Regions from separate parts of the Homo sapiens genome. Here all the other regions are linked to region 1. The links are contacts of gene promoters, found by promoter capture Hi-C in blood cells and fetal thymus (Javierre and others, 2016). All regions are on one chromosome and are shown on one strand. The core of a region is centred on a gene start or on the middle of the fragment in contact, and the rest is flanking DNA. Distances in the headings are between cores, read along the strand shown. Region 1 holds the start of LCA5 (lebercilin LCA5). Region 2 overlaps PHIP (PHIP subunit of CUL4-Ring ligase complex). Region 3 overlaps PHIP (PHIP subunit of CUL4-Ring ligase complex). Region 4 overlaps TTK (TTK protein kinase). Region 5 overlaps LOC124901351 (a long non-coding RNA gene). Region 6 overlaps HMGN3 (high mobility group nucleosomal binding domain 3). Region 7 overlaps LINC01621 (long intergenic non-protein coding RNA 1621).

Evidence for each region. Contacts are between HindIII fragments. The CHiCAGO score rates a contact against its expected background, and 5 or more counts as called.
Region 2: a contact is called between a fragment that was not itself captured here and the fragment with the promoter of LCA5 in region 1, in 1 of 17 cell types (megakaryocytes). The highest score is 7.3, in megakaryocytes.
Region 3: a fragment that was not itself captured here is called in contact with the fragment with the promoter of LCA5 in region 1 in 4 of 17 cell types (megakaryocytes, erythroblasts, naive B cells and 1 more); the score reaches 10.8 in megakaryocytes.
Region 4: a contact is called between a fragment that was not itself captured here and the fragment with the promoter of LCA5 in region 1, in 1 of 17 cell types (total B cells). The highest score is 5.4, in total B cells.
Region 5: a fragment that was not itself captured here is called in contact with the fragment with the promoter of LCA5 in region 1 in 1 of 17 cell types (fetal thymus); the score reaches 5.6 in fetal thymus.
Region 6: a fragment that was not itself captured here is called in contact with the fragment with the promoter of LCA5 in region 1 in 1 of 17 cell types (M0 macrophages); the score reaches 5.1 in M0 macrophages.
Region 7: a contact is called between a fragment that was not itself captured here and the fragment with the promoter of LCA5 in region 1, in 1 of 17 cell types (monocytes). The highest score is 7.9, in monocytes.

What each region holds. Positions count from the first base shown.
Region 1 is chr6:79,534,924-79,539,280 of GRCh38, reverse strand. LCA5 (lebercilin LCA5) reads left to right here and starts at 1,851. Exons shown (of 8, transcript NM_001122769.3): 1 at 1,851-2,116. It also overlaps a transcript of SH3BGRL2 not described here. RefSeq lists enhancers at 234-807, 1,338-1,387, 1,382-1,955. The HindIII fragment of the contact is 3,782 bases long and covers 893-4,357 here.
Region 2 is chr6:79,039,573-79,043,929 of GRCh38, reverse strand. PHIP (PHIP subunit of CUL4-Ring ligase complex) reads left to right here. Exons shown (of 40, transcript NM_017934.7): 7 at 927-1,087. The region is part of intron 1 of LOC124901346 (a long non-coding RNA gene); the gene reads right to left. Among named protein-coding and RNA genes, the nearest start is that of PHIP, 37 kb to the left of the region's middle. The HindIII fragment of the contact is 1,838 bases long and covers 1,704-3,541 here.
Region 3 is chr6:79,057,252-79,061,608 of GRCh38, reverse strand. It overlaps PHIP (PHIP subunit of CUL4-Ring ligase complex), which reads left to right. Exons shown (of 40, transcript NM_017934.7): 5 at 791-941; 6 at 1,033-1,131. The region is part of intron 1 of LOC124901346 (a long non-coding RNA gene); the gene reads right to left. Among named protein-coding and RNA genes, the nearest start is that of PHIP, 19 kb to the left of the region's middle. The HindIII fragment of the contact is 5,266 bases long and covers 1-4,357 here.
Region 4 is chr6:80,008,774-80,013,130 of GRCh38, reverse strand. It overlaps TTK (TTK protein kinase), which reads right to left. Exons shown (of 22, transcript NM_003318.5): 5 at 2,174-2,317; 6 at 1,583-1,697; 7 at 1,330-1,402; 8 at 1,151-1,245. Among named protein-coding and RNA genes, the nearest start is that of TTK, 6.3 kb to the right of the region's middle. The HindIII fragment of the contact is 2,315 bases long and covers 906-3,220 here.
Region 5 is chr6:79,952,780-79,957,136 of GRCh38, reverse strand. All of the region lies in intron 1 of LOC124901351 (a long non-coding RNA gene), which reads right to left. It also overlaps the pseudogene GAPDHP63. Among named protein-coding and RNA genes, the nearest start is that of ELOVL4, 7.4 kb to the right of the region's middle. The HindIII fragment of the contact is 263 bases long and covers 1,769-2,031 here.
Region 6 is chr6:79,202,042-79,206,398 of GRCh38, reverse strand. It overlaps HMGN3 (high mobility group nucleosomal binding domain 3), which reads left to right. Exons shown (of 7, transcript NM_001201363.2): 4 at 2,769-2,819; 5 at 4,010-4,123; 6 at 4,244-4,336. Among named protein-coding and RNA genes, the nearest start is that of HMGN3-AS1, 29 kb to the left of the region's middle. RefSeq lists an enhancer at 1-337. The HindIII fragment of the contact is 241 bases long and covers 2,253-2,493 here.
Region 7 is chr6:79,805,595-79,809,951 of GRCh38, reverse strand. LINC01621 (long intergenic non-protein coding RNA 1621) reads left to right here. Exons shown (of 5, transcript NR_131786.1): 3 at 2,611-2,738; 4 at 3,904-4,056. Among named protein-coding and RNA genes, the nearest start is that of LINC01621, 4.5 kb to the left of the region's middle. RefSeq lists an enhancer at 2,281-3,480. The HindIII fragment of the contact is 4,092 bases long and covers 60-4,151 here.

The sequences.
Region 1 (4,357 bases), core at 602-3,101:
ACCATGTAATGTCATAAAACTTTTAAAACTGCTTTCTCATATTTTGGGGTAACCTTTTAAAATGGTAATTCAATAAACTAGTTTTTACTTCTGTAAATTTATACATTTTTTGGTCTTTTTTCAAGGTCAAACTGATACTGTTATTTTGAATATGAGGGGGTGAATAAAATTGCACACTGTAAGAATCCTGAGACTATGTTACACACAACTAGACAATTTTTTGGATTCTCCCAGCGTCTTAAATATTTTCTTGCTTACCAACAACTTCTTAACCTGTAGGTGAAACACAATGAAGGCACTAAATCCGAAACCACGAAATTTGGAAGCAGACCTAGGCTTGTACTCTGGCATTACTACTTACTACTTTCGTACCTTGTGGTAGATACTTTAACTTCTCTGAATCTGCTTTCTCAAGTATAAACAATGAATAACAATACCTGTCTGGAGTCATGAATGAAGATGGAATGAGATTACACTGCCTGGAGCATTCTGAGTGCTGAATAAATGGTGGTTTCATTCTCAGCTCTCCTTCAGCAATCCTGATCTGACGCTCCTGTGACAGACATTTGTCCACGTAAATACGGTATGTTTTCTGATTCTTCCTAGCAACTTCCTTTATAAGTAATCCACCCATACATTTACATGTTAATTCTAACAGAGTCCATAATAACGAGTGAGCTATTTTAACAGTGTCAGCAGAGACAGATTAAAGAATTGATGAAAAGTAATTCCGTGCAATTTAGGGATTACTCATCTTATTTTCACTAACAGATGACTGCCATCTTGTACAGATGTATTTCGCATACAGAAAATTACATTTAATCACAATATTGTTTGGGTGGGTTAGTCTGTAACTTGAAGTAAAATGTATTGACAGGATAAAATGAAAGCTTTGAAACAGTGCAAAGGTGGAAAAACGAGGTTGAGCGAGAAGCAGGAATTACCAATCTTCATGGTTAGAAGATTCATTAAACGCATTTGCCTTCAAATATTAGATTCTCTACAGAATGGTGGTAAAAAGGCCAGTGAGAAATTAACAATAGTGAGAACACCAGAGTAGTGTTAAACCACCTTGATAATCAGATGGCTCGGAGCAGTTTAAAGCCCTCACGAAAGAGGATTTTTTTTTACCTTCCCTGTCTCCCGCAATTAATGCCATTTCTAAAAGAGAAAATATGTCACACATCAGCGCTCAATAGGCTGACATGCTCCTCAAAACGTTCCTTAAAAAAAAAAAAAAAAAAAAAAAAAAAAAAAAAAAACTTGTGTGCAAATATTTCAGATGCCATTCCACCCCAAACCCGTTCCAAAACCTAAAAATCACTTTCAAGCCAAACTCACGGCTCGTTGGTGATTCACAGCCAGGATCTCGAGGCAGGAACAATAGTGCACTCACCCCGCATCCTCCTGAATCAGCCATTTCGGTAAGAAGATCCAGAAGCACTAGCAGTTTGTTTGTAATTTGTTTACAATTTAAAAGCAAGTTATTTCCCAAAGGAAATCTAAGCAATTGTTAAGTGTTTTACATTACGCAGTCGCCAATTTTACAATTCATATCATGAACCCACTTTGCCCTCCGCCCGCGTCCCTCTCGGAGCCCACGACGCTCAGCAGTCGAGCCCTGGCACCGCACAGCCCGTAGGAGCCTGGAGCGCTCCGCGTTTTGCCCCAATTTCCCTACTTGGGGGTCTCCGCTACAGCTAGAGCGGTCGGCCAATGGAGACCTTCTCCCGCACTCGCCGTCCCGCCTTCCAGTTCCACTGAAGCCAATAAAAAGGGCCGTCTGGAGACAGAAGCCAATGGGAGCTCGGGTAGAGTCATCATGATTGGCTGCGGTCTCTTCGTAGTGCAGTCTAGGCCTCCGCCTCCGTTACCCTGGAGCCCAGGTTACCGCCGCTGCCACCCAGGAGCCCCGATCCTCGCCTCTGTCCCATCCTTGTGTTCAAACCTCCCGCATCTCGGCAACCTCGGCACCCGCCCGGCAGCCTCCGCAGGAACCAGGCACCCGCTCTTTGGCGGTCAGACGCCGAGGCCCCAGCTGGGAGTTTGGTCCTAAGAGGGAAGGCAAGGAGGCGGGACGCCGCATCGGCTCTGCTGAAGAGCCTGCGGGTTGGAGGTGGGCTTTGAAGTGGGCGTGGAGACGGCGGGGGAGGTGGAGGTGCGAGGTGAGGCTGGGTTGAAGCGTCTGGTAGCTAGTGAAGGGGCGTTCGTGGATGGGGGCCTGCGGGTGGTTCTTAAAGCAGGGAAGATGAAGGGATTAGGGATGGGGGAGGATGTAGGGACCGCGAGGAGAAGGAAGACCTAGGAAAATGAGTAAAGAGCTCGGCTTCTGAGAGGGTCCCGAGGAAGGGAGGTTGACCGGCACTGGGGGGACTGGGAAGTTAGGAGGAGAGGAGCTGGGAAAGGGTATTTACTTCCTGGGACCGAGAAGAGAAGAAAGGGAGCAAGCGGATCTAGAGAAGTGGTTGTTATTAAAACAAACAAAACAAAAACCCCGGAGGCCCGTGGAGACTCAAGACTAGAGAGGAGGGGCAGGGCCAAGGGCCAAGACGGAAAAGGAGGCTTTGGTAGCTCTCGGATAATAATAGATGTGTTATTATTAAAACTGTGGTTAGAGTGGAAAGCCGTACTTGTCCAGGCTGTGATACTTCTATACATCCTTCAGGGATGGGATGAGAGGAGTAAAGATGGTTAGAAATAAAAGAAAAAAGAAAGTGCCTTTTTGGCATACTCGAGTTGGAGTCGGTACTCAGATACGTGATGTTTACGTTAGATAGACCGTGGGATAGTGTTTAACAGTGAAGAGCCCTGGTCCAGTTCATCTGATATAAACCCCTTTTTTGTTCACTTTGTTCTTTGGAAAGTATACTTGGGCACATACATATTTATTCCCCTCCTTTATCTTCACGTTAAGAACTTGCATTAGAGATATCTTTGCAATCAGAAGTCATCATTTAGTTTTTGGCAGAGGGAGTGGCTATATGTGTTTTAGAATGGTAAAACCGATGTTTCCAGTTCTTTACTCATTCCCTCTTTCTTTTGCATGGTTATTTTAATCTATGTTTTTTTCCAGTTGTTCCACATTTAAATTCTATATTACCATTTTAAATATTTCACTTTGTGATTTCCCATGTTAGCTAGTATGTTTATCCAAATAAGTTATAGGAAATAATAGTTTGTTTTGATTCTCTAAGTTGACAAAGTATCATTTTAAATATCAAAAAGTAGTTTGTGACTTTGGAAAAGAGATTTTTCTTCTTTTGTGAGTCACATCTCTTCCGTTACACATATTGTGGAACTATAATTCTGTAGGACACAATGGAAGCCCATTAAATAAAGATGCTACCCTTCTCTTGGGTTCTTCATCTGCCTGTCATTCTTCAACTCCTTTGTGGGATCTTCTTCCTCGGCCCACCATATTTCATTATTGTTTTTCCCAATAATCCAGTCTTCAGTCTTCCGTCTTCTATTTTTTACTCTGTGTTCTTGGCTGTGTTCTTCCTCTCCTTTGGCTTACACTATTTGTGTTTTATTAACACTCTCCCAATTTTTTATTTCTGATCTGGAACTTTTGAGTTACTGTCAAACTTTTGTAGCTAATTTTTGGTATTTCCACATAAATTTCCTATCCATAGGCATCCCAAACTCAGTATGTCCAATATTGAACCCATCACCTTTCCCTGCCAAAGCTGTCCTGCTTGAATACCACATTCTCCTAATTTTGCAAGCCCAAAACTTTGGAATTTACTCAAGTTCTTCTCTATTCTCAGACTTCATATTTAATCTGTCACCAAGTGTAGTTTATCTTACTTGAAAAACATTTCTGGAATCAGTTCCGTACTCTGTATCTCTAGTTATACTACTTTCAAAACACTGTCTGTCAGTGATTATCGAGACCAATTGATATTCTTCCTCCAGCTTTCCTGCCCTCCAATTCTTAGATTGGAGATGGATCCTTGCAAATGTCAGATCTGATAATATTAACCCTACTGAAGAGCCTTGGTTTCCAACCAACTTATTAATGACATAGAGATTCTTCTTGTGATATTATCTTCCACCCGATCCAGTCCCACTTATTATTACTTTAGCACTACTCCCCAGCCAGTGCCATCCTTTTAAACTAGCATTGTCCATTTGAAATAGAATGTGAGCTATATCCATTTTTTTCAGTAGACACACAATAAAATACAGGTGAAATTTTAATGTATTTTTAAGTCACATATATCCAGAATATTATTTTAGCATATGTCAATGTAAGAAAGATTATAGAAGAGCTATTTTATGGTCTGTTTTATGTACTAAGTTTTCAAAATTCCACATGTATTTTACACTTGCCGCATATGCCAATTCTGAATAG
Region 2 (4,357 bases), core at 1,373-3,872, 500 kb after region 1:
GTATATATATTTAGTTTTCTTTAGGGCTAAATTCGACCGAGAAACCCTAGTGCTAATTACCCAATGTAGATGGCAGTCACTGTTAGAAAAAAAAAAAAAAGCCTGTATTAGAAGATCATCTGTAGGTTAATAATGTGCCTGCAGATCAGTCAACATATATTTATTGAGCACCTTCTTTGTCCATAAGTTACCAGTATAGAAAATAAGTACAGTAGTAATTTAGATGGAAGAGGACATTTTCAGCTGGAGTCAATGTATCAAGCTTTGGGACAGAAGATAAACTTCAGTCAGATCTTGAATAATGATTAGAATGAATGAGTTGAAAGGGAGAACTAAGGGAGAGCTAATAGATTCCAGAGAAGGAATCATTATACAGGTGTTTGGCAAGATTCCCAGTTTAATTATTATTTTTTAATAATGCAAATGACGTATTCCTTTATCTTCACTTGTTATAAAGATGTTTTTAAATATCATTCTGCATGTCAGATTTCGAGTGTTCAAGTGTTACTGATTTATGAAAAGTACACTGGGTTCCAGTTTTAAGTGCCTTTGTAAGAAAAACTATTTCATAGACAGCTTTTAAGGAAATAACATATAAATGCTTTAGGTTTTTAAAGAGCACTAGCCAGAGAGTAAATAAATCTGAGCTTTAATCCTAGCTTCATGCCTTACTTTGTGATTTTTGGACAGGTCATTTAACTTACAAATTAAGTTATAAAGTGAGAATGATAGTGCCTGACTTATTTCAGGTGAAACAATGTTTTTATTCATTACTTTAAAGACTTTTAACTAGAAGCCATATATATCAGAAAGCTTCTTTATTTTTACCTGCACATGACAAATTGGAGTATGTGAATTCTTAAAAGGTGATCATGTAAGAAAATTAATTTCCAGATTACATTTATTTTCCTTCTTTTTCTTGGTAGCGGATACTCTGTTTTCAAGGAAGCTGAATGGGAAATACAGACTTGAGCGACTTGTTCCAACTGCAGTGTATCAGCACATGAAAATGCATAAACGAATTCTTGGACACTTGTCATCTGTGTACTGTGTAACTTTTGATCGAACTGGCAGACGGATATTTACTGTAAGTAATTGCTAAAGTATTATTTATATTCATATATGTAATTGAGGAAATATTGCTTATAGGTGAACTTGAAGTAAAACCTTGCTTTTTTTTCTTTTAATAGGAAACCGGAAATTCAGGTGGTTTCACTTACTCTAACAGAAGAGTTTAGTTAAATTTGGACTTTATCCAAATTCAGAAAGTTTCTAAATGACATGTTGCAGCACAGTCACAGTTATTATATGGTTGTACATCATGAATAAGTATGGTTCTCAACATATATCAAATACACAGTTTGACATTTTGCAAAATGGCATAAAATAATTTTAATTTTGAACTAAGGACATCTAAGTATGTTGAGAGATTATTAAATGTGCCTTTTTATAATTGTATGAGATTATTGAATATACCTTTTTATATTATCTGTAGAAAATCACTTGCTTGTCTATGAGAAATTTCCCTTAAAATAGTGATTTTAAAAAAGCTAAAAAATTCTGAGCATATCTAATACTCTTATTACCTGTTATTCTTAACAGTTCATTCTTCAAAATATCTGATGTTTTGTTTATAGAGCCTCTTTGGGTTTGTTTATTTGTTATTGTTTCTTGTAACCTGTTGAATAGAGAAAAGCAAAGCTTTTGAGCTTTATTTTAAGTGAGAAAATTACTTTTGGAAATATTTGATTTTCAGGTGCCTTAACATCTACATTCATTAAGCATAATACTACACTATTATGATGATATTTATTATTAAACACTACCCTGTGGGCTGAAGGTATGCATTCATTCACAAGGTTTTTAATTTCTTTTGAAATAAGAAAATTTGAAGTGGAAGTTAAATGGAAATTTTCCTGTCTTTGAAGAGAGCAGCTGTGAATTTTACGTAGTTATGACAATTATAGATTCCTCTTTTTAGTAAATTTGCTTGTAAACTGAGACCTATTTATACCTACTACTTCTCCTCTATCCATACACCCAGTCATCTGTAAAACAGCTAAATAGCAGGATGTAGGAATGCATTTTTATACTTTTCTTTTCCCTTGGCTCTAATCTACCTCAGGCATTTGCACATCACTTCTTATATCAGTATTTTCCCTTTTTACGTTCTCTTGTATCAAGTATTATTTTCAGAGTGGAAAATAGGCATCTCTATATTTGCTGAAGTGCCTGACATACCTACAGTAGTAATTTGCTCTCAAATAGTAATCGAAAATTAATTTAGCCATTCAAGTTTAATATGGGTATATTCAAATTCACCTCTCAAAAACCTTAAGTAAATTTGATTTTTCTAATGTTTGAAAGAATTCTTTCAAAAACAGTAATAAATTAAAATAATGAAAAAGGAGCACTATATTGTGCCAGTAGGTCAGTATAAAGTTATGCCATTGTAAAGAACCTTGTAGGAATTCTTTCTTTAAAAATGATAGGGATTGTAAGCATTTGTTTATCATATTTTATGAAGCATTTTACATGTTTTGATATTAATTAGACATATAATCTCCTGGAATTTTTTTAGGGAGAATGCAGTGAAATAGTGTGCTTTTTGCTATCTCATGAGTGTGGTAGGTACAGACTTGGAAGAGCTTTTTGAACCAGGGTTCAGCATGCTGCTGCCTGCGTCTCAAACCCAGTTTGTCACTTGTTCTTATAAATGCAATTTTATTGAAACACAGGCATGTTCAGTTGTTTATATATTGTCTATGGTTGCCTGTGCACTACAACAGCAGAGTTGAGTAGTTTTGACTGAGAACATATGGCCTGCAAAGCCTAAAATATTTATCCAGCTCTGTACAGAAAAAAATTGCTATCCTTTTCTAGACATTTGATTCTTTCTTTTAAGGGCATGTGATTTAGAGAACAAGAATAATATGCGAAGAGGAAGCTGCTTGTTGGTTATTTCTTTAGTTGAAAGCACATCAATTAAGAGAAGAAAAGTAGCACTGTACTATTTTATATGGTCTTACCAAAGTCTAAAGATGTTTATTTTTTAAGAATGTGATAGAATTTGTTTTGCTAAATTCAGTCTCATTTGTAATTTTTTACTGGTGGTTTGGAGTTACAGATTTCAGAATGTTACCTTACAATAAGAAATAACGAAGATATGAGGGCACTATTTTTTTGAAAAATTCTTGTATTTTTATTATTTTCACTTCAAGTGGTGGTAGGGTACACATATGTTCACTATTCATATTGCTCATTAATAAAGTGGGTGCTGAGTGTTTTTTGCATTTCACTAGGCACAGACTAGACGCTAACTAGTCCTATGGAAATCAGTCTTGAAAATAGATAGAATCAGCCTTTAAGATAGTAGATCATGATTGACCAGTGAAACACTCCTGTGAGAGAACATACTGTTATTATTTTTGGAGGTAACAATTTGGTAATGGATCAACCAGTATTTCCTTTTTATATAATTGGTATTTTAAGACCTTGCAGATTTATTTCTAAGATATTTGTGTATATATATTTGAAAGCTTTTTCCAAGGGATTCTCTTGAGTCCTTTCTGAACAGGCACAGCTGGAGGCATACAGTACTGTGGTTAAAAGCATCAGCTTTGACATCAGAGGGCTTTTAGTCACAGCTTTACCACTTCTACTAGTGAAACTTTGACAGATTACCTCATCTCTTTAATCTCCAGTTTTCTCATCACCTAAAGAGAGAGGGGAGTAGATGATAATAGTACCAACCACATAGGATTTTTGTGGGATTACATGAAATAATGCATATAATTAGTACTGAACAAAATAGAAAGCAGTCATTAGGTTTTTCCTACTGCTACTTATAGATTTAAGTAAATTTTATCTTTTATTTTTTATCCAAATAAAATCTTATTTATAAATGGTATACAAGAATTAAAAAGGAAATCATTGTAATTGATAATGAAATTCTGTATTAGGAAAATGTATCATTATTTTGTATGACAGTATTTTAAGAATGGGTGCTTTCCCAATTATTTTAATGAGAAAAACCCAAGGAGGGAAATAGCATAATTGCCAAGTCAGATTTTGTTCACTAATTCTCTTTTAGCCTTTTAATGTTTTTTACTTGGTTTTAAAATCATTTCCTTAAGTGACATTTAACGGAGAAAAGCAGAGTTAATGAATTTTCACAACTAAGGCACTCAAAAGTACATGGAACGCCATATAAAAAGCAGAGTTTTCCCCCCTTTTCAGAAACATAAATTGTCTCTCTGATTCTAATTAATATGGTATAATAAAGAAAATGAGTTTATGCATTCCTTTAATGAACTTCAGAGTTTTATGAACCAGCCACTGTTTTAAGCAGTTGGGA
Region 3 (4,357 bases), core at 527-3,026, 480 kb after region 1:
GTAACATTTTTATAATAATTATTCCCAAACAAAACAAATTTGTGAGAAGCGTGGCATTGTTTTACATTTCTGTGAATCTTTAATATCTGGCTTAATAGAGGAGACATTTTCCTATCTGCTTCTGCATTCAGTCTGTTAAGACATCACATGTTATGTGTCCTGTGGAAACCTCCACCGTGCATTCATGAGAAAAAGTGAAAAACAACTAATATAGTGTTATTCATAAGTTTTATCTGAGGGACCTCCAGGGGTTCCCAAAACATACTTTGAGAATAGCTGAACTAGATACTACTGTGGAAATTTTTTTCTAACTTGATAGCTAATTATGAAGTAATACAATAGTATTTTTTTCCAATATAATTTTATTTAGATAGTGAATATTGTTTATTTACTGAAAGACTAATAAAAATATTAGCATTTCATGTCATGGTTTCAAATGCCGGTATAAATTAAGCAGTATTTTGAAGTTGTTCCAAAAGTGCTCAAACTTTTTATAGTGGGTAGCTTTATTTTATGATTGAAAGATATTTAAAGCAGCAGTTGGAATTTTGCCTTTCTCTCTGTAAGGTTTTTGGTAAATTATGAAATTCAGCATAGATGTTAAGTGTTCTTAAATTTTTTAATAACAAACTATCAGTTCTTAATTCTTAATTATTCTGGAGATTTACTTTACATCAAAGACGCAAAACAAAATATTTTATACTTGGATGAATTTTTTTATTGTTGCTCAAAGATTTTGAAAATTAAAATGATAAACTGAAACCTACTATATTTGTCTTTTACATAATAGGTGAAGTATTACAGACACTTAGCACCTGATCACTTGCTGCAAATATGTCATCGACTAGGACCTCTTCTTGAACAAGAAATTCCTCAAAGTGTTCCTGGAGTACAAACTTTATTAGGAGCTGGAAGACAGTCTTTACTACGCACAAATAAAAGTATGAAAATTTTCTCATAGGATTTAGACATTATTTATCTCACTTTTGTTTTTGTGTTCTTTGTATGCATAAAAATACATGTGTTTAATAGGCTGCAAGCATGTTGTGTGGAAAGGATCTGCTCTGGCTGCGTTGCACTGTGGAAGACCACCTGAGTCACCAGTTAACTATGGTAGCCCACCCAGCATTGGTGAGTTGTTTGAGTTCACTAGTAGTTAATAGCCTCTTGGTAAAGAGCTTTTGAAAATGAAAAGGTTTTTTAGTTACTGTGGTATTAGAGAACTTCATATTATGTACATCTGCATTCAAAAAGAAAAAAATAGATTTTTTTTCTTAGTAGTAGTTTTAATAGTGAAAAAGTCATGTATAATGAGGGATTGTGCACATTGCACCTTATGTAGGCCAATTAGCTCATTGGAATTTTATTTTTACGAAAGTTCCATATTAAGGTATATATTATTAGGTCGAGTTAGTAGAATCAATATATAATTCAGATTAGTTATAATGGTAGGAGACAAAAGTAGTTATCTTTTTAAGAGCACAGTACTTTTTTTTTTTTTTCTTTTTTTGGCTAAAGTTTCAAAGAGGGAGTACTGATGCAAGTATGTCTTCTTGAGATGCCTCCTAGGTTCATGCCTTTCACATCTGCTACTACCAGGCCCTTGCCTTACCCGGATTAATACAGCATCATCCAAACTAATCTTCTTGCCTATGGTGTCTTCTATCTCTCTCTCCCTCCCAGTATAGTGTGTAACACTGTAATAGTAACCTTATTCAGTTCTACCTTTGTTGTGTCACTCTTCTGCTGAAGATAGTATAAAGAGGTTAAGATATTTTAATAGTGTTGTACTTTCTCTAAGTGTACTCCTAATTTTCAGAGACCTTCAAAGTTCAATCATAGCTTCTTTTCCACTCTCATGTTCCTGCCTAGCCAGGAATGTTACTCTTCTTTCTTCCACCTGTTCAAATCTTACTTAATTCTTCCTTTTCTGGATACTTATTATACAGATCGTAAGTTTATATGACTTTTGTTTGGCATTTTTATATATATATATATATATATATATATATATATAATTTTGCTTTCAACTTTTTGTTTCCTTTTATTTCTTGTCTTTTAAAAATATAAAAGTGGCTTTTAAAAATACAATATGATAATCTGTGTTTTATCTGGAACATTTAGTCATTTACATATAATCATTGATGTACTTGGGTTTAAATCTACTATCTAACTTGCTACTTTGAAGGCAATCCCTTTTTCTCTAATTGTTTTTAAGATTTTTTCTCTTTCTGGTTTTCTGCAGTTTGAGTATGATATGTCTTGATGTTAATTTTTTAAAAATTTGTCTTGCTTAGATTCTGGAAATGTCTTTTATTGACATTGAAAAATTCTCAGTCATTATCTTAAAATAACCTCTGTGTTCCTTTCTCTCTCCTTTCCTATGGGACTTAAACACTTTATCTGCTTCGTTATCCTTTCTTCTATGTTTTACATGTTTTTGACTCTCTGATGTATTCTGAATTGTTTGCTCTGACTTACTTTTCAGAGATAACGTATGTGATATCTGCGTGGTGGGTAATCATCTATGATTTTTTTTAAAACATAAGATTGTCCTGTTTAAATAATTTCAATATATAATCTTGCTATAATAAACAACCATTAAAACAACAAAAAAATTTGAGAGACGAGGGTATATTTGTACTTAGAAAAGTATTCTAAGGTGGTATAATAGGATTCCTGCAAGAAGGGAAAGATAAAATATTATAGGAGTTTTCCCATTTAGGAAAAGTTTATCCTGTCTTTGAAAAACTATAGATCCACATAATAAGGAGAACACGTTATGCTTGTTCTTTCAGTACATTGTCAGTCAGGCCTGTGGTAGGTAATGAAAGTGTAAGAATGATTGATGGTAAATAACATTTGCTTTGTGAGTAATTCCTGTATGCCAGACACTGTTCTAAGCATTTTCTATTTATTTACTCTTTTAAAACCTTAAATGTTCTATAGGTAGGAACTATTATGCTTATTTTACAGAGGAGACTGAAGCATGGAAAGATTTTGGTAACTTGACCAAGTTCACACATGCAGTGAGAAGTGAAGCCAGGATTCAACCCAGACTGTTTGACTCCATTATGCTATGCTTTATTCCCAGTAAACTGAATTTATTAATAATAACACTTGGCTACTCAAGAAAATTGGTGTTAGTCATTTTTTGTAAAAGGGAACCAAATATTTATAAAATCAAATATAATATTTTAGGCCACGTCGTTGATGGTCAGATTAGTAAATACTGCTGACAAGGAGAGAGGAACATTTATCTTCCCTTATTCACAGGAGATACATTCTGAGATCCGTAGTGGATGTCGGAGACAACAGATGGTACAGAACCCTATATATACGTATGGCAAAAATACCTTGGGTTTTGCATCCAAGCATAGAAATGTAATTGATTCATTTAGGTAACAGAATTAATTGCCAAGCAGGTGATTGATGTACCTTTCTGAAAGACTATTTTATTTTTAGAGTTTAAGATAATTTTTTTCTCTCTCTCTTCCATTGTGATTTTCAGGAAAATCTTTGCTTTATTTTAAGAAACACCTGTAGTGGATTGCCCATTTTGCCTACTTTTAAAAATTGTATTTACATATATTTTTTGAAAGCACTGCAGAGAAGCTAGACTGACCAAAATGACTCAACTTGCATAGTCATAGGTTAGTGTCTGTGTTTTGCTAGAGTTCACCATGGTATATATTTTGTTTTATTATCGCTATAAAGTAATGAACAGGATGGTGTTGGGGAGAAATAATTCATCAGTCTTCTTGCCAGAATAGTTGCCTGCATAGTGGTACAATGCATTATTTCAAGCTGTTACAGTATGGTTCAGAAGATTGAAAAAAATATATATGAATGTTTGTAGTACTGACTTATTTCTTCTTTTGTTGAGTCTTTGCCATTTTCTGTCTGGCTACCTTTAAAAGTTTTCTTTGCTCTTTCCTTGGTCAGTGTGGTATTACCAAGTATCAGTGGAGGTAAGAAAAAATTCTTGATATTTTAGCTTTTCTTAAGATACGTACGTAGATTTAAACGTTTAATATAGATCCCAAATATTAAAATTTTGACACATTTGGGGTAGTAGTTTTTCTTTAAATAAACTTTTAATTTTGGAGTAAGAAATTATTTACTGAGAAGTTACACAGATGGTTTAAAGAGCTCCTGTATACCCCTCATGCAGTTTCCCCAAATGTTATACTTTTGCATTACCTGGTCTATTTCTCAGAACTACTAAGCCAATATTGGTGCATTACTGTTAACTAAACAGCAGACCTTATTCATGTCTCACTAAGTTTTCCCACTAATTACGTTTTCTTATTCCAGGATCCAGTCCAGGATACCGTACTTGACATAGGGTTTGTTA
Region 4 (4,357 bases), core at 814-3,313, 470 kb before region 1:
ATTCCAATACAAAAGTGACTTAGCTAACAAAATTACGTGCTGGGCAATGACAAAAGTGACACAGGTGATCGCCTACTTCTTCATTATCTAATCAGTAACAATTGGAGTTAGGGTTAGACTGTGGGAAAGGCAAAGTATACAGATGAAACTACATTTCCAATTACAAATAGCTAAAGGATAAGAACCAGGGTATAGCACTTCTGTGGACCTCCACAGTACCTAGCATTGTCTATCGATAACAGGAACCAAGAAAATGGCTGCAGTTTTTCTGTTTTTGTTTTTAATTTTTTGGAGCGGAAGAAAATCTCCTTTATTCTTGAGCTAGGTATTTGAAATAGAGATGAACAAGATGAAATCATAGTGATAAGACTTTAAAGCTTAACCTTGACAAACAAAATGTTCTTTTAATGTCAATATTTAGTCAAGTCTAAATATAATAGAAATGTAATTATAAAAGATAGTAATGAAAAACAATCGTATTTCTAAAGTTTATTTGCAAAATGATTCTCTGGACTGTAAGGAGCCTTTTCCAATATAAATATTACAAATGTTGGTCAGAATTAAGAATAGGCCAAAATAACTCTCCTTTAGCTGAGCTACAGGCTACATTCCCATTTCTTAACAGGGAATAAACAAGCAAATTGAGGGAAGGAGAACACACTGGATGTGATGAACAGTAATTCATCTGTACCTAACCTGTCCCACTTCTTGAAGCACTAGACTCAAGCAAAAGAATAATCATCTATCCCACTGACAGCGATTCTCCCCTTGAACTATCTGGAGCAAATATTTGTTCCCAGACCTCCTTCTACCCGTTATGGAGACTCTCAAACAAAACAGGAAGAGATTCTTAGCAGACAGCCTACCCGTAAGTGACAAATCCTCAAATATCAGTCTTTTAAGCTTAATGTTGACTTAATATTTTTTCCTTTTAAAGCTCCTTTAATGAATATTTTTAATGAGTGAAAAAGCAAAACAAAGTTATTTTCTCCACTCATTCCTTTGTTCCTGACAACATTTAGAGATTATCTTCTAAAACTGAATAAAAATTTAATCATAATTACTATTACTCAGTAAAAGACTTTAAGACCATTCTGCCATTAATCTTCCCATACGGACAACAAATTTTAAAAATTAAAACTCAACATACCTTTTCATAAAACAAGGTACAACTGAATCATCTGTCTTCACATCACAATCTGGGCTATTTAGAAGGTTAACTGGGACTCTTCCAAATGGGCATGACTAAAAATATTTTGAAAGATTAAATAACCAACTAGGAAATAAAGACTATCACCACCTTAATCAAGCAGATTGAAAGTAACTTACCTGTTTAGTTTTGTTAGTTTGTCTCAATGAATTCCGGTAACCTATTTCTGCATCTTGTGGTGGCATGTTCTCTCTAAACAGAAAGAAAATACCCCCAATTTTTCAAAGAACAATATTAATATGTATTTCTACTCTACTGCTAAACATTATCACACACATGAAAACATATATGCAGATACATGTAATTACATTAAAAAACACAGATGTACTTACATAGAAGATGAACATTTAAAAACTGTTTCCGTTTCCTTACCCATATAAAAACCTGGCTTTAGTAGTCTGTCCTCTGGAATCACAACTGTTGTTCCTATTCTGTAAATGCCCAAGTGAACCGGAAAATGATTCTTGGGCAGTTAATACCGTAGATGCTGTAAAAATTTTGAAACTATGATTAAATTTATAAGAAATAAGACAAGTACAAAAAAGTGATCTTACAAATAAGAATATTTTAAAAGTCAATTCATAGGAAATACTTGTCCCCAAGTAAGATATGCAGACATGAAGATGATACCAAGATAATTATCTAACTACTTCTTCAAATTCTCTTAAATTATATAACTATTTCCCCAGGGTAAAAGCACATTCTCTATTTCCAAAAGCAAAAAAAAAAAAATTCTCTTGCTTAGAGTTGTTTTTCATGTGTTAACGAAAGTTTAGTTAGCAAAAAAGACAAATTTGCATGGGGTTGTAGAGACTTTTTTACTTCTCAGTCTTACCTCCTTTACAATTTAATCTTAGATTTTAACCATTCTACATAAATAATATTTTTCTATAAATTATTATCCCGAATCTTTATTTGAAGTACTACCTACCACAGAAAGTATTAGTATACCTTAATAGTTACCTGATAAATTCTTCTTTTCCTCCTCTGAAAGCAGCTGCTTTTTTTGGAGGTTTAAATTCCGCAGGGCAATTTCCAGCATTTCTAGTGGTACTGCTCCACGTTCTACAGCTTTTTGAAGAAGTTGTTTACTTTTTTTGACATTACCTAACAAAGCAAAAGATAATTGTCATTTTTAGGCAGTAAAATGCCCACCACCCAGACCACCCAGATACGTATTCATCAGGACCTAGAAAAAAAAATCAAAAAGACTTAAGCAAAAATATTTATTCCAAGGCTCATGTATTTTATTTCATAGGCAAGTAAGCAATCTCTCACTTTTTATGCAGATAACCAACTCTCTTCTGATAACAATGCATACCAAATAGTTTCCTTGCAATATGTAGCTGACGTAATTTTGCATTAGTTTATCACCACTGTCCACTTTCAGAAGTAACAGAAGTGTAACAAAGCAGTTACCAACAGGGGACAGCAAAGGCCAATCACAACAGTTAGAAACAGGAGGGCATTCTAGATGTTACAAAAGTGCCAAGAGCATCAGTCTCTTACAACATGCTATAATAAGTATCATTCATAATGACATTTAGTTAAGGGAAGGATGACATCTTTTGTTAAAGAGCATCTTCCATCAAAAGGATTTTCGGGGAAAAACATAATAAATACAGATTAATCTTTAGCTGTCACACTCAGCTATACCAGCCTGAAAAAGAATGCAGAATAACTGAGGAACTATCATAATTACCTTTCTGAGTATGGACAGATTACCAAAAAAATTGGTAAACTTACCCCTAGCATTTGACATATAAATATTAAATGTATACATCACATATCTTACAGAATATTATCAACATTTATGGGAGCCATTGAGCTATGCTATGCACTTGGTACTTAGCGTATAAAAATGCTTAAGAGATGATCTCTAGCTTCTGGTAGTTTATAAATTTTTAAAAATATCTTTGATAGTGCTTACATCTACATTTACTAAGTAGTGGTAGAATTTCATGTATTGTGTATTTTAGCACAAGAAAAGAGAGAAAGGCTTAAGAAGCTTAATTAATCAGATAGCTTAGTATTGAGATCAGAGATTTCTTTAAGAATCTGGTAAAAACTGAAATGTCCTCCATCCCTATAAAAATACTCACACACCAGACTCTGCATAGGACTTCAGGGATGCTGCATTATTTCCTGACAGCCAAGCCATCAACTGTGCTCAAAATAATCATAATTTGACCACACTGCATTACTGTGCAATGCATTTGACCACATTGCATCACTGTGCATTACTACCACATTGCAGATAAAGTGGTATAGATAAAGTTCGTCTTTTTTACAGATAACTCAATTTAAGAGTTTCAATATTTACATGTTCTAAACATGTAAAATTTATGGTTGTTATTGAGAGGCCACAATACCTCAAGAAATTTTCAAGCAGAATGGAGAGAAAGAAGCCTTGCCAAATTTTCTCTAACAAGCAAGGAGGAATCCATTTTTCTAGAGAAGAAAGGGATAATAGTTCTAAAAAGTAACCTGATAGAGCAAAGGACATATTGGAGAAGACAATTACTAGGACTCAGAAATCATCTGAATGGGTAACAATTCAGGGTTCTCAAATTATTTCTGAGTCATATAATTATTTTCTCCAGGCTCAATCCTGGGGAATACTCTCCAGTGACCAATCCCTGCTATGGAAACCATCATGGGGATTCTTCCAATAGTGTTAATATGTTTATCACTGGCAGTAAATTGGATCACAGTTGTAGCAGAAACAAGGCAGTGGGAGAATGGAAACACCTGGCCAGAGGGCAGACTGAGGGTGTATCCAAAGGCCCTGGAAAATGAGAAAAGACTAAGGAATGGCCAGGTTAAAAATGTCTTAGGAAGAGATTGTCTTGGTCCTACCCAAAAAAATCCAGACTATGAAGAACCAAGTGAGCAAGAAATAGTTTCTACAGCAGTTTACTTTTTTATTTTAAAGAACTACCAATTAACGCTACACACACACACACACACACACACACACACACACACACAGATATATAGTTTACTTGACCACCAAGTTACATAGCTACACTTTAATGTACATTTTGGTGCTATGAAACCATAGCATAAGAAAAGTTTATGTAAGCTCTAGATATTTAAAGCTCTAGCTTAAATATCTGATATCCTTCTTCCTACAAATACTCAGTG
Region 5 (4,357 bases), core at 651-3,150, 420 kb before region 1:
ATTATAACAAACTGTCTCTCAGACCACAGTGCAATCAAACTAGAAATCAGCATTAAGAAACTCACTCAAAACTACGCAACTACATGGAAACTGAACAACCTGCTCCTGAATGACTACTGGGTACATAACAAAATGAAGGCAGAAATAAAGATGTTCTTTGAAACCAATGAGAACAAAGACACAACATACCAGAATCTCTGGGACACATTTAAAGCAGTGTGGAGAGGGAAATTTATAGCACTAAATGCCCACAAAAGACAGCAGGAAAGATCTAAAATTAACACCCTAACATCACAATTAAAAGAACTAGAGAAGCAAGAGCAAACACATTCAAAAGCTAGCAGAAGGCAAGAAATAACTAAGATCAGAGCAGAACTGAAGGAGATAGAGACACAAAAACCCTTCAAAAAATCAATGAATCCAGGAGCTGGTTTTTTGAAAAGATCAACAAAATTGATAGACTGCTAGCAAGACTAATAAAGAAGAAATGAGAGAAGAATCAAATAGATGCAATAAAAAATGATAAAGGGGATATCACCACCAATCCCACAGAAATACAAACTACCATCAGAGAATACTATAAACACCTCTATGCAAATAAACTAGAAAATCTAGAAGAAATGGATAAATTCCTCGACATATACACTCTCCCAAGGCTAAACCAGGAGGAAGTTGAATCTCTGAATAGACCAATAACAGGAGCTGAAATTGAGGCAATAATTTATAGCTTACCAACCAAAAAAAGTCCAGGATCAGATGGATTCACAGCCAAATTCTACCAGAGGTACAAGGAGGAGCTGTTACCATTCCTTCTGAAACTATTCCAATCAATAGAAAAAGAGGGAATCCTTCGTAACTCATTTTATGAGGCCAGCATCATCCTGATACCAAAGCCTGGCAGAGACACAACAAAAAAAGAGAATTTTAGACCAATATCCCTGATGAACATCGACGCAAAAATCCTCAATAAAATACTGGCAAACCGAATCCAGCAGCACATCAAAAAGCTTATGCACCATGATCAAGTGGGCTTCATCCCTGGGATGCAAGGCTGGTTCAACATACGCATGTCAATAAACGTAATCCAATATATAAACAGAACCAAAGACAAAAACCACATGATTATCTCAATAGATGCAGAAAAGGCCTTTGACAAAACTCAACAGCCCTTCATGCTAAAAACTCTCAATAAATTAGTTTGGATACTTTCTGTTGCTGTTGTTGAGACAGGGCCTCACTAGGTGCCCAGGCTGATCTCAAACTTCCAGCCTCAATTGATCCTCCTGCCTCTGCCTCCCAAAACGTTGGGATTACAGGTGTGAACAACTGTGCTTGACCTTAAAATTTTTTATAGATATTTCATTGTTATTGATTTCCCATTTAATCCCCTTGTGGTCAAGTTCTATATTATTTCCTATTTGAAATTTATTAAGAGTTATTTAACAGCCCATAAAATTATAGATCTTTGTGATTGTTTCATGCCCATGAATTTGGCCTCCACCAGGTCAAATGATTTACAGTGTAATACATCTCTTCTATATTATAATTTATCTTTGCCTATTTATTATATTAATTATATAATAGGGGTATTAAATTCTATAACAATAATCTTGAATTTGTCTAATTTTTTTCTTAGTCTGTCAAATATTGCTTTATGTATCTTAAAGGTCTGTTATTACGTGCTTACCTTTTACTGGCTCTTTTATCTCTACTAACTTTGGTCTGTCCACATCCTGACATCCTTTAAGGAAGTGAAAAATAAAAAGCTTCTATTTTGCTTTAGGCACTTTTCTTTTGGGTTTTTCTGTAATATGTAATCATATCTAATGCTAAATGATACAAATACTATGACAAAAAAGTACAAGACACCGTGAACATGTGTGTAACGGGGATCTAACCTTGTTATTGGAGTCAGAGTTTTCCTAGGTCATACATTTAAGGTAAAGTGGGTATTAGCTCTAGTCAGAGGTTGTGAAAGAGTATTCCAAGAGGGAGAAAGTTATGTGCAAAAGCCCTGAGTCAAGGGAAGCTTGGCTCTTTGGAGAAACAGAAGGAGGTCCTGATTAGCTTCCCTGTATACTAAAAGCAGAAGTGGTAAAGGAATGATAGGCATTCTAGATCACACTTTCATTAGGCAAGAAGAAAGATTTACAATGTTCTAAGCTTCTAGATGTGGAGGCTTTGGAGCTTCCTGAGAGTACTAGAAATATTAAGAGATTTTAAGATGAGAAATGCCATCATCTGACATGCAATTTTAAAAGATACTCAAAGTACTGTGTGAGAATAAATTGTAGGAGGAAATAAATGGATGCAGAGAGATCAGTTAAGGGGTGATTGAGGCCAGGCACAGTTACTCACGCCTATAATCCCAGCACTTTGGGAGGCCAAGGCAGGCGAATTACGAAGTCAAGAGTTCGAGACCAGCCTGACCAACATGGTGAAACCCCATCTCTACTAAAAATACAAAAATTAGCCGGGCATGGTGGTGAGTGCCTGTAATCCCAGCTACTCAAGAGGCTGAGACAGGAGAATCACTTGAACCTGGGAGGCGGAGGTCGCAGTGAGCCAAGATCATGCCACTGCACTCCAGTCTGGGTGACAGAGCAAGACTGTCTCAAAAAAAAAAAAAAAAAAATGAGGTGATTGAAGTTTGAAGTGTTTAAGGTGGGAGAGAAATGATGGAATTTTCGGTTAAATTATATGCAGTAGAGCTGAGGGAAGTGGAAAAAATCAAGATATATTTTGCAAGCAGAATTAATAGGAGGTGGTCATGAATTGGATGTGTGTTGGAAGGGAGAATATTATAAAATGTCATTGATCACTTTTGGCATGTGTGGAAATAGGGAAATATGAAAGAAGAACAGATTGTGGGAGGGGGGGAGATAGGTTTTTAACATGTTGATTTTCAAGATGCCTGAGTTACATTAAAGAGAACCACACAAGCTATGAGATACATGAGCTGGAAAGAAGATCTAGGTTGAACACATATATCTGAGAGTTATGAATGCAGATGGTAACCAACGCTATGAGAGTGCATGAAATAATTTAGGCAGGGCTCTCTGCTCCTCCTGTTTGACAGACAGCTGCATCTTCTCTTGCATTGCCAACCACATCCCTGAGACACCATGGGGAAAGTGAAGGTTGGAGTCAATGGATTTGGTTGTATTGGGCGCCTGGTCATCAGGGCTGCTTGTAATTCTGGTAAAGTAGATATTATCGCCATCAATGACCCATTCATTGACCTCAGCTACATGGTCTACATGTTCCAGTATGATCCCACCCATGGTAAATTCCATGGCACCGTCAAGGCTGAGAACGGGAAGCTTGTCATCAATGGAAATCCCATCACTATCTTCCAGGAGCCAGATCCCTCCAAAATCAAGTGGGGTGATGCTGGCACTGAGTATGTCATGGAGTCCACTGGCATCTTCACCACCATGGAGAATGCTGGGGCTCACTTGCAGTGGGGAGCCAAAAGGGTCATCATCTCTGCCCCCTCTGCTGATCCCCCCATGTTCACGATGGGTGTGAACCATGAGAAGTATGACAACAGCCTCAAGATCATCAGCAATGCCACCTGAACCACCAACTGCCTAGCGCCCCTGGCCAAAGTCATCACTGACAACTTTGGTATCGTGGAAGGACTCATGACCACAGTCCACGCCATCACTGCCACCCAGAAGACTGTGAATGGCCCCTCCAGGAAACTGTGGCGTGACAGCCACAGGGCTCTCCAGAACATCATCCCTGCCACTACTGGGCTGCCAAGGCTGTGAGGAAGGTCATCCCTGAGCTGAATGGTAAGCTCACTGGCATGGCCCTCCGTGTCCCCACTGCCAACGTGTCAGTGGTGGACCTCACCTACCATCTGGAAAAACCTGCCAAATATGATGACATCAAGAAGGTGGTGAAGCAGGCATCAGAGGGCCCCCTCAAAGGCATCCTGGGCTACACTGGGCACCAGGTGGTCTCCTCCGACTTCAACAGTGACACCCACTCTTCCACCTTCAATGCTGGGGCTGGCACTGCCCTCAACGACCACTTTGTCAAGCTCATTTCCTGGTATGACAATGAATTTGGCTACAACAACAGGGTGGTGGACCTCATGGCCCACATGGCCTCCAAGGAGTAAGACCCCTGGACCACCAGCCTCAGCGAGAGCACAGGAGGAAGAAAGAGGCCCTCACTGTTGGGGAGTCCCTGGCACACTCATTCCCCACCACACTGAATCTTCCCTCCTCACACATTCCATGCACACCCCTTGAAGAGGGAGGGGCCTAGGGAGCCCCATGTTGTCGTGTACCATCAATAAAGTCCCCTGTGCTCAGCCAAAAATAATAACAATCATAATAGTTTA
Region 6 (4,357 bases), core at 1,124-3,623, 330 kb after region 1:
GGGAGACAGGGCACCAAGTCCCTAGACTGCACAGAGCAGAGGGACCCTGGGTCAGGCCCACGAAGCCATTTTTTCCTCCTAAACTCTGGGCCTGTAATGGGAGAGGCTGCTGCAAAGGTCTGTCACGTGCCCTGGAGACATTTTTCCCATTGTCTTGTGCATAACATTTGGCTCCTCATTACTCATGCAAATTTCTGCAGCCGGATTGAATTTCTCCTCAGCTCAGAAAATGGGATTTTCTTTTCTTTCGCATTGCCAGGCTGCAAATTTTCTAAACTTTTCTGCTCTGTTTCCCTTTTAAAACTGATTGCCTTTAACAGCACCCAAGTCACCTCTTGAATGCTTTTCTGCTTTGAAATTTTTTCCACCAGATACCCTAAATCATCTCTCTCAAATTCAAAGTTCCACAAATCTCTAGACCAGGGGCAAAATGTTGCCAGTCTCTTTGCTAAAACGTAACAAGAGTCACCTTTGCTCCAGTTCTTAACAAGTTCCTCATCTCTATCTGAGACCACCTCTGCCTGGATTTCATTGTCAATATCATTATAAGCATTTTAGTTAAAGCCATTCAACAAATCTTTAGGAAAGGTCACAGTCATTCAGCAAGTCTCTAGGAAGTTCCAAACTTTCCCACATTTTCTTGTCTTCTTCTGAGCGCTCCAAACTGTTCCAACCTCTGTCTGTTACCCAGTTCTAAAGTCACTTCCACATTTTCATTATCTTTCAGCAGTGCCCCACTCTTCTGGTACCAATTTACTGTATTAGTCCATTTTCACGCTGCTGATAAAGACATACCCAAGACTGGACAATTTACAAAAGAAAAAGGTTTAATTGGACTTACAGTTCCATGTGGCTGGGGAAGGCTCACAATCATGGAGAAAGACAAAAGGAGCAAATTATGTCTTACGTGGATGGTGGCAGGCAAAGAGAGAGAGCGCTTGTGCGGGGAAACTCCTGTTATTAAAACCATCAGATCTCATGAGACTCATTCACTAATCATGAGAACAGTGCAGGAAAGACCCACCCCCATAATTCAATCACCTCCCACTGGGTTCCTCACATGACACATGGGAGTTGTAGGAGTTACAATTCAAGATGAGATTTGAGTGGGGACACAGCTAAACCATATTAGGAAGAGGTGTCAGTCACTAGGAGGACTTAAGAGCTGGGGTTGCTGTTGTGAATCTCCAGGCAGTTAAGGGAACAGACCTTGTAAGTCAAATGAAAACCAAAGTTTAAAACAAAGCTTTTCCTGAGCACCAGAAACCAGCAATATAAGCACCTTCCACTGAGATCATTCCCTGTGCTACCGAAACAGAGCCTCCTCAGAGGCCAGCAGGATTACAGACTACAAAACCTCATTTCCTGGTCCTATCAAAACACTTGAATGCTGGGTCAGAGGGAAAGGTCTGTCCTACAGAAAATAATATAAAAGGAAATTGTTTACTGTAAATGGAGAAAACATGTATATTAATACAGTATATCAAAGCTTAGGATGACAAAATGTTTTAAATTCTGAAAATGTAAGAGCCATGAAAGCTGCTGTATTTGGCCTGCAGATTTAGGGTGATAAGAAGATTAATAAAAACATTTCTTAACTTTTCAAGCTCGATTTTCTTTTTTTATTTGAAAGGTCATTTCTAACAGCCAATCTTCTGAAATCAAACTGTCTACAATTTCACTTTATGCCCTTGATGAAAAGGGGCAGATTCAGTGTGAACGTGAATTACCTAGAGGCACTAGGGAGGAACATGTATTTTTCTCCATAGGGGGAGACCCTGGCCAGTGTTTTCTATTTTAAAACCATTCTTCTAGTGCCAGGAGAGATGTACACTTTTTTCTAGTTCTATGAGAGAAATATTTGCCCTAAAATATCCACAGAAAACTCCTGGTGTAAAATGGTTATCTTTCCCCAGTTATCCGCATGTGCCACCTGGTCTCAGGCCCCTGGGAAGCTGGCCAGGGCTGAAGCATTGTGTGGCAGAGGGTCCATGGTCACACGGTGTGCAGGTGCTGCTCATGGGAACTGGAGGAGGACCACATGAGGCAAGAGAAAAATAGTTTCCTAGGGGACTGTTTGGCTAATAATATCTGTGAAAAATTTAAACTTTGGGAGCTAACAGTAGACATTTTATCATTATAATGATGTTCTCAATAAAAACCTTTAGACACAAATGAGCCCAGCATATCTGGTTAGACAAGAGATTCTCACCTTGAGCTGGCATTGGGGAGAATAAAAGTAGGAAGAAGCTTGGCAACAGAACTCGAAATCTACATTAGAAGTGGAAGGATTTGGAAGTGATTTTGAAATACTTCACAGGCAGCAGTCTTCATTACCAGTTGGGCTTTGCTAGTGATTGTGCTGTGATTTCTAGACTGTTAGGAAGGCCAGTGCAACTGAATTCATTGAGTCCTTTGGCCATGGGCCTGAGTCATTCCTCTTGCTGCTGTGCTGTGATAAAAGGAAGAGCAGACACATTGGAGATAGAAGCTTAGACCTGTTCCCGGAGAGCTATTCTGGACCAGGGAATAAGGAGTCGGCTTTTCAATCTCACCTGCAGTTCCCTTGTGAACCCAGGGTGAAAATAGTTATGAAATGCAGAGATCTTTATGCTGTTACCTGGTGCTGAAAATAGGATGAAATACTTTTTAATGACCAAAGCCATGTCAAAATGGATAGTTGTCTTTGTTAGTCCTTTTGTGTTTCTTTTGGTGCTGATAGTTTTTTTTTTTTTTCAGTATTTGTGTAATTTAAATTATCTTTGCAGAAACCTGCTCCACCAAAACCTGAACCCAAACCAAGAAAAACATCTGCTAAGGTAAGAAGTGCTGTTTCCCACTTTTGGCTTTTTAAACAATGAATAAATTATAATTCCCTACCTCAGAATCATTCAAAGAAAGGCCGTATTTAATGATCCAAACTGAAACCATTACCACTGTTACGGGCTTGCTTAAAGGCATAAAGCACAGTTTTCTGCGTTAATAGGAGTGTGTTTTCCATTTGGTCAGTGAGGCACGGGAAGTCAGAGATGTTGCTCTGAGAAGCCTCATGTCCGAAGGGGGTTTGGCAGCAGCCTCGTGAACATGCGGTTCATGCGGCACACAGCGGGGATGAGTTTGGGCCCTGGCAGCACTGCCCCACTATGGGAGGAATTTGGGAAGGGGCTTCTGACTTCATCTAACTGGATTTCGCAGGCCAGTCTGAGGTCTAATAATAATAATATAATAATGCCAGCAGGTAATATTGGCATTTATAAGGCCCTTATAGTATGGCAGATAAGGTTGATTGCTTTACTCATATGACCTTCACATCAACTCTGTTGAAGTAGATACAAATATCCTGTTTTGCAGATGAGGAAACTGAGGTACAGAATTCTTAGGGAACTTACCCAAAATGGCTTTTCTGCACTCTGCCCTTTGGTATTGTCCCATGTGAATTGTTTAAAACTTATGTGTATAGTGGCATGAGTAGGTGATTTCAGAAACAGAACTCACTTTTGTTGTTTGGTCTTAAAATTAGGAACTTTTCTTCATCTGGGCTTCATTTCCCTGCACCTTCCCAGCTTTCTAGTCATGCAAGCCACATGTCTCCACGTGAGGGGTTCATTGGAAAGCAGCCACAGAGCCACCCCCTGGCTGGGTTCTTCCCCAGCTCTGCTTCCTCCTTCCCCAAGTCCTGCAGCTGCTCTCTCCATGGCAGAACCACTTCTCCCCTTACTGGAGGGGAGGTCCACTGAACAAATCCAGGAGAGGAATCATTGTGTTTTCCACAGAAGAGAAAGTACACTGGACTTTCTGTGCAACCTGTTACTACATTTTCACAGAGACTCATATTTGTGCAGTGTAACTCAGTTGAAACCCAGCAAAATTAGGCTCCCGTGTCTCCATAAAGGCCACCATGATGGTAACGGTTGTACTTCACCTTGTGTTTGGACAGAGGCTGATTGATTTTAGCCATCATCACACCGTGTCTAACATTCTCTTTCACTGTGCTTTGATCCTCTGTTAGAAAGAACCTGGAGCAAAGATTAGCAGAGGTGCTAAAGGGAAGAAGGAGGAAAAGCAGGAAGCTGGAAAGGAAGGTACTGCACCATCTGAAAATGGTGAAACTAAAGCTGAAGAGGTACTTTCCATAAATACCTCCCACTGATTGAATCAGTGTCTTTAAAGAAATTTCTCAATCCTTCAGCCGGTGATAGCACGTTCTTAATGTCTCTTTTTATTGCCTGTAATGTTATTGCAGATCCACATCTCTCGCTCAACTGTTAATGTCTCAACCTCCAGAGGCACCCCACCCAGCACACTGTCAGTAAAGGGGCAGATTGAAACAGTGAGAGTTAAGGGTACAGTAGAAAAT
Region 7 (4,357 bases), core at 856-3,355, 270 kb before region 1:
TGTGGCATTCTAAACAACAGCTTGGATGAAATTGACTTTGTTGATGGAAAAATTAAGCTTTCATCCTTTCAAATGACAGCTCGAGGGGTGGCCGTACAATAATTTAATTACCGTAGCTTCCTTAATTACAGCCGACTCACCTACCTTTAGCTCCATTACCGTTTTCCTTAATAAACACGAATAAATGGACGAAAAACAAAAATTAAGAAAACCAATCTTAGAGTAGCTTTTATAAAATTTTGATAGGCATAGAGGCAAATACAAATATGTGAGACTCAGAGAAACATATTAACCCCTTCAACTCTAAAAGAACTAGAAAAACCACAATTTTGTTTTTTTCTTTTTAAAATTGTACCATAGTCCCACTTATTAATACTAAATTTTATATTTTATTAATATTCAAAATATCCAATCAATATAAATTCCTGTCAAGATGGTAATATATCTATAAATTCAGATTCTGAGTAATGACCTGATATTAATTGAATTTATTGCAGGTTTTTAAATCTTTACTACAGTTTAATTCCATCCTATAACTAAGTTTGTTAACAAATGGCCCTGTTAATATATAATTAAGTACCTGTGTATTGATTTGCTTAATTACATCTAAACAATACCAAAAAATAAAAACCACACAGATGCACCCAGACTGATTTAAATTGCAGGATATCATGAAAATTAAAGACAGACTTCTGTGTCTTATTTCCTGAGGATTGTTGGGGAAATATGCACTTTTGGCATAAGCAAACTACTTAGAACAAAAATAGCAACCATTCTGGGAAACATTTACATTAGGTGAAATCTGTCTCTGAGGCTGTCTGCCTTCCACCCAAGAGCTCCCTGACATGGCAGCGTCCCCTCTCCTCTCTATTCTCTCACCTTCCTCAGCTGGAGGCCAGTCGTGTATCTCATGTCACATGGCCCTGGTTAGTAACAAGGCATTATTAGCAAAGACAGCTATTTAGAGGTAGGGTTTTGAACTCTCTGAGGATTATCATTTTCTTCATCTTCACTATCTTCATCCTCATCTTCAATCAACAGTTTTGAGAGCAGACTGTGTACAGAGCACAGAGAGCCACTGAAGTTGTTCCCCTCTCCCCAAAATAGTAACCTTTATCATCTAGATGAATGAGCTCCTCTGATAAATTCTACAAGTATTGTTTCTGCTTCATGGGCATTGAGAGTGGCCTCCTCCATCTTTACAGAAGGAAATTATCACCTCCAAGTTAGACTAGTTTATTCCTAGAAAATTCCTTCAATACCCCCTCATCTGTAGGATATTCATTTAAAAATCCTATCAGCTTTTTTTCTCAACAGTTTTCAGGAAGAGAGCTTTGGAAAATACTAAAATATCAGTCTAACAAATTCAAAGACATATATTAGGGCCTTTAAAACCTCATACACTTCCCCTTGGCCTCCCGGATAATGCTCCTTAATCCTAATTAGCTTTTACAGCATGATTAGTGTTTGCCAATGATGATTAGAGGTGCCAAATTCACCAAACCAATTAGTAGCAGAATTGTAGGATCCTGGTGCGGCTTTATTTTGATTCTGATTCACCTTTTACATCATCTTTGTCGTTGCCTCATTTGTCCAAGGTAGCAATGCTTCTATATTTCTGTGTTCTCATTTTGACTGTAGTGTTTTGATTGAGAGTCTGGAATGTTGTTCACACAAGGGGAATCTTGCCCAAAAGAATATTACTTCTAAGGTCTTCACTCAGGAGTTTAGTCATGTACTTGTGCTGCCTTTGTATTAAAACTCTTTGTATTAAAACCCTTCTGATTATGGTTGAATCTGTTCCCCACCTCTGACAGATACACCATAGGGTGACCCCTAATGAGTCATGCTCTTAATCCCCTTGCCATGAATGTGGGTGGAAATCATAACTTGCTTTTAACCATAAGATACAACAAAAGTAAGGAAATACCACTCCTGTAATTATATTTATGGCAAAGTCGAAGGGACTTTTTTCAGGTATAATTAAGATCCCTAATCAAGTGACTTTTAGTTAAACAAAAGAGCATTTACCCTCAGTGGGCCTGGCCAAATCAGTGAGCTTTTTAAAAGAGGGTCCAGGCCCTCCCTGAAGTTCGAGACCTGAAGCAGTAAAGACTCTTATTTCTGTTGCTGGCTTTGAAGAAGCAAGCTGCCATTAATTCTACAGTCATAAAGACATGAATTCTGCCAACAACCTGCAGGAGCTTAGAAGCAGATCCTAGCATTTCCATTGCATCCTCCAGATGAGAATGCAATCCACCTTGATTTCAGCCCTGTGAGACCCTGAGCAGAGAACCCAGTTATGACATGCCCAGATTCCTGACCCACAAAAACTGTGAGATAACAAATGGGTATGGTTTTTAGGCCATCAAATGTGTGATTATTTATTATGCAGCAATAGGAAATTGATGCACCACTCTTGCAATAAAGATACTTTGTTTTATTATCCAGTATCCCATATATCGTTTTTAAATAAGTAGATCATTATACATGAACTCCACACAAGGGCTTCTTATACTTTGTTGTTAGAAAACTTACCCAAGTCACATCTCAGGCTCTAGAGATGACTTACCATCTAACCCTTATGTTTCCTATCGACTTTACTGTTAGATAAACTAGAAGATTTGGTGCCCAGCATGAAGAATAGTTCCTTTCAAGTACCTGTATGTCCTGAATGTATTCCTTCCAGTGGGTTCTTGGTCTCGCTGACTTCAAGAATGAAGCCTTGGACCCTCGTGGTGAGTGTTACAGTTCTTAAAGATGGTGTATCTGGAGTTTGTTCCTTCAGATGTTCAGATGTGTCCAGAGTTTCTCCATTCCAGTGGGTTCGTGGTCTCGCTGACTTCAGGAGTGAAATCGCAGACCTTTGCAGTGAGTGTTATAGCTCTTAAAGGTAGTGCAGACCCAAAGAGTGAGCAGCAGCAAGATTTATTGGAAAGAGCAAAAGAACAAAGCCTCCACAGCATGGAAGGGGACCGGAGCGGGTTACCTCTGCTGGCTTGGGTGGCCAGCTTTTATTCCCTTATTTGGCCCCGCCCATGTCCTGCTGATTGGTCCATTTTACAGGGTGCCGATTGGTCCATTTTGCAGAGTGCTGATTGGTCCATTTTACAAAGTGCTGACTGGTGCATTTACAATCCTTTAGCTAGACATGGAGTGCTGATTGGTGCGTTTTTACAGAGTGCTGATTGGTGTATTTACAATCCTTTAGCTAGATAGAGAGCACTGATTGGTGTATTTACAATCTTTTAGCTAGATACAGAGCACTGATTGGTGCATTTTTACAGAGTGCTGATTGGTGCATTTACAATCCTCTAGATAGAAAAGTTCTCCAAGTCCCCATTCGACCCAGGAAGTCCAGCTGGCTTCACCTCTCACCTGGACACATCTGTCCTTTGGCTACCTTTACATCAGTGGTTCTTTCACATTTTGGTCTCAGGGTTTCTTTACATCAAAAATAATTGAGGACCCAAAGAAACTGTGTTTATTTGAGTAATGTTTATCATCTACTACATTAGAAATTAAAATGGGATGAATTTTAAATCATGAGAATGCACAGGCACACATTCCGTTAGCAGTCAATAACATCATCACTCAGCATGGGAAAACCCACGGGTTGCTTGTGAAAGAGTGAAAGGAAAACACGAGGTAACATCATAGTATTATTACAAATTGACCTTGCAGATCTGAAGGGTCTTGGGAACCCCTGGAAATCACACTTTGAGACCACATCTTGAAAACCATTGCTTTATGTTTTTAGCATTTTTTGTTTTATATTGCATTAAATTTTATTAAGCCAACTTACATAAGTTTATAAAATATGAGGTAAACTTTTTTTAAAAAATGAAAAAGGCAAAATACTAGCTATGTAATTGTGCTGTTTATTCCCCACCTGCCCCACAGATATGTGCTCACCCTTCTCTGCTCAGCTCTGTGCCTGGGAGGCTGACCTCTACAAACTGCATCACCAGGCTTCCGCCCTCTGGCTTCCAGATGGATTTGGCCAATGGGCAGCACCAGTGGGAAAGGAGAGGACAGGAGGAGAGACAGGCTGAGGTCATGTATTTATCCCCCTCTTCCCTACCCCATGACAGTTCTGACAGGCAGCCCCTCCGTTTCTCCAGCTCTCAGCTGAGCTCCAGTAACAAGCTTCCTTCTCTTTCCCCTTTAGGGTTGGGGTGGCAAGAGCCACCACCTGGGTGTCTCACTATATCTTGTTGGCTTCCCTAATCCTGCCTACATTAATCATTTTTTTTAAATTTCAAACTCTCTTGATGCTTCCATTTGTTTCCCGAGGAATCCTGGCTAATGGAGCAAGCTTGGACACATTCCTTCATTTCACAGGTCCTCAGTTTAT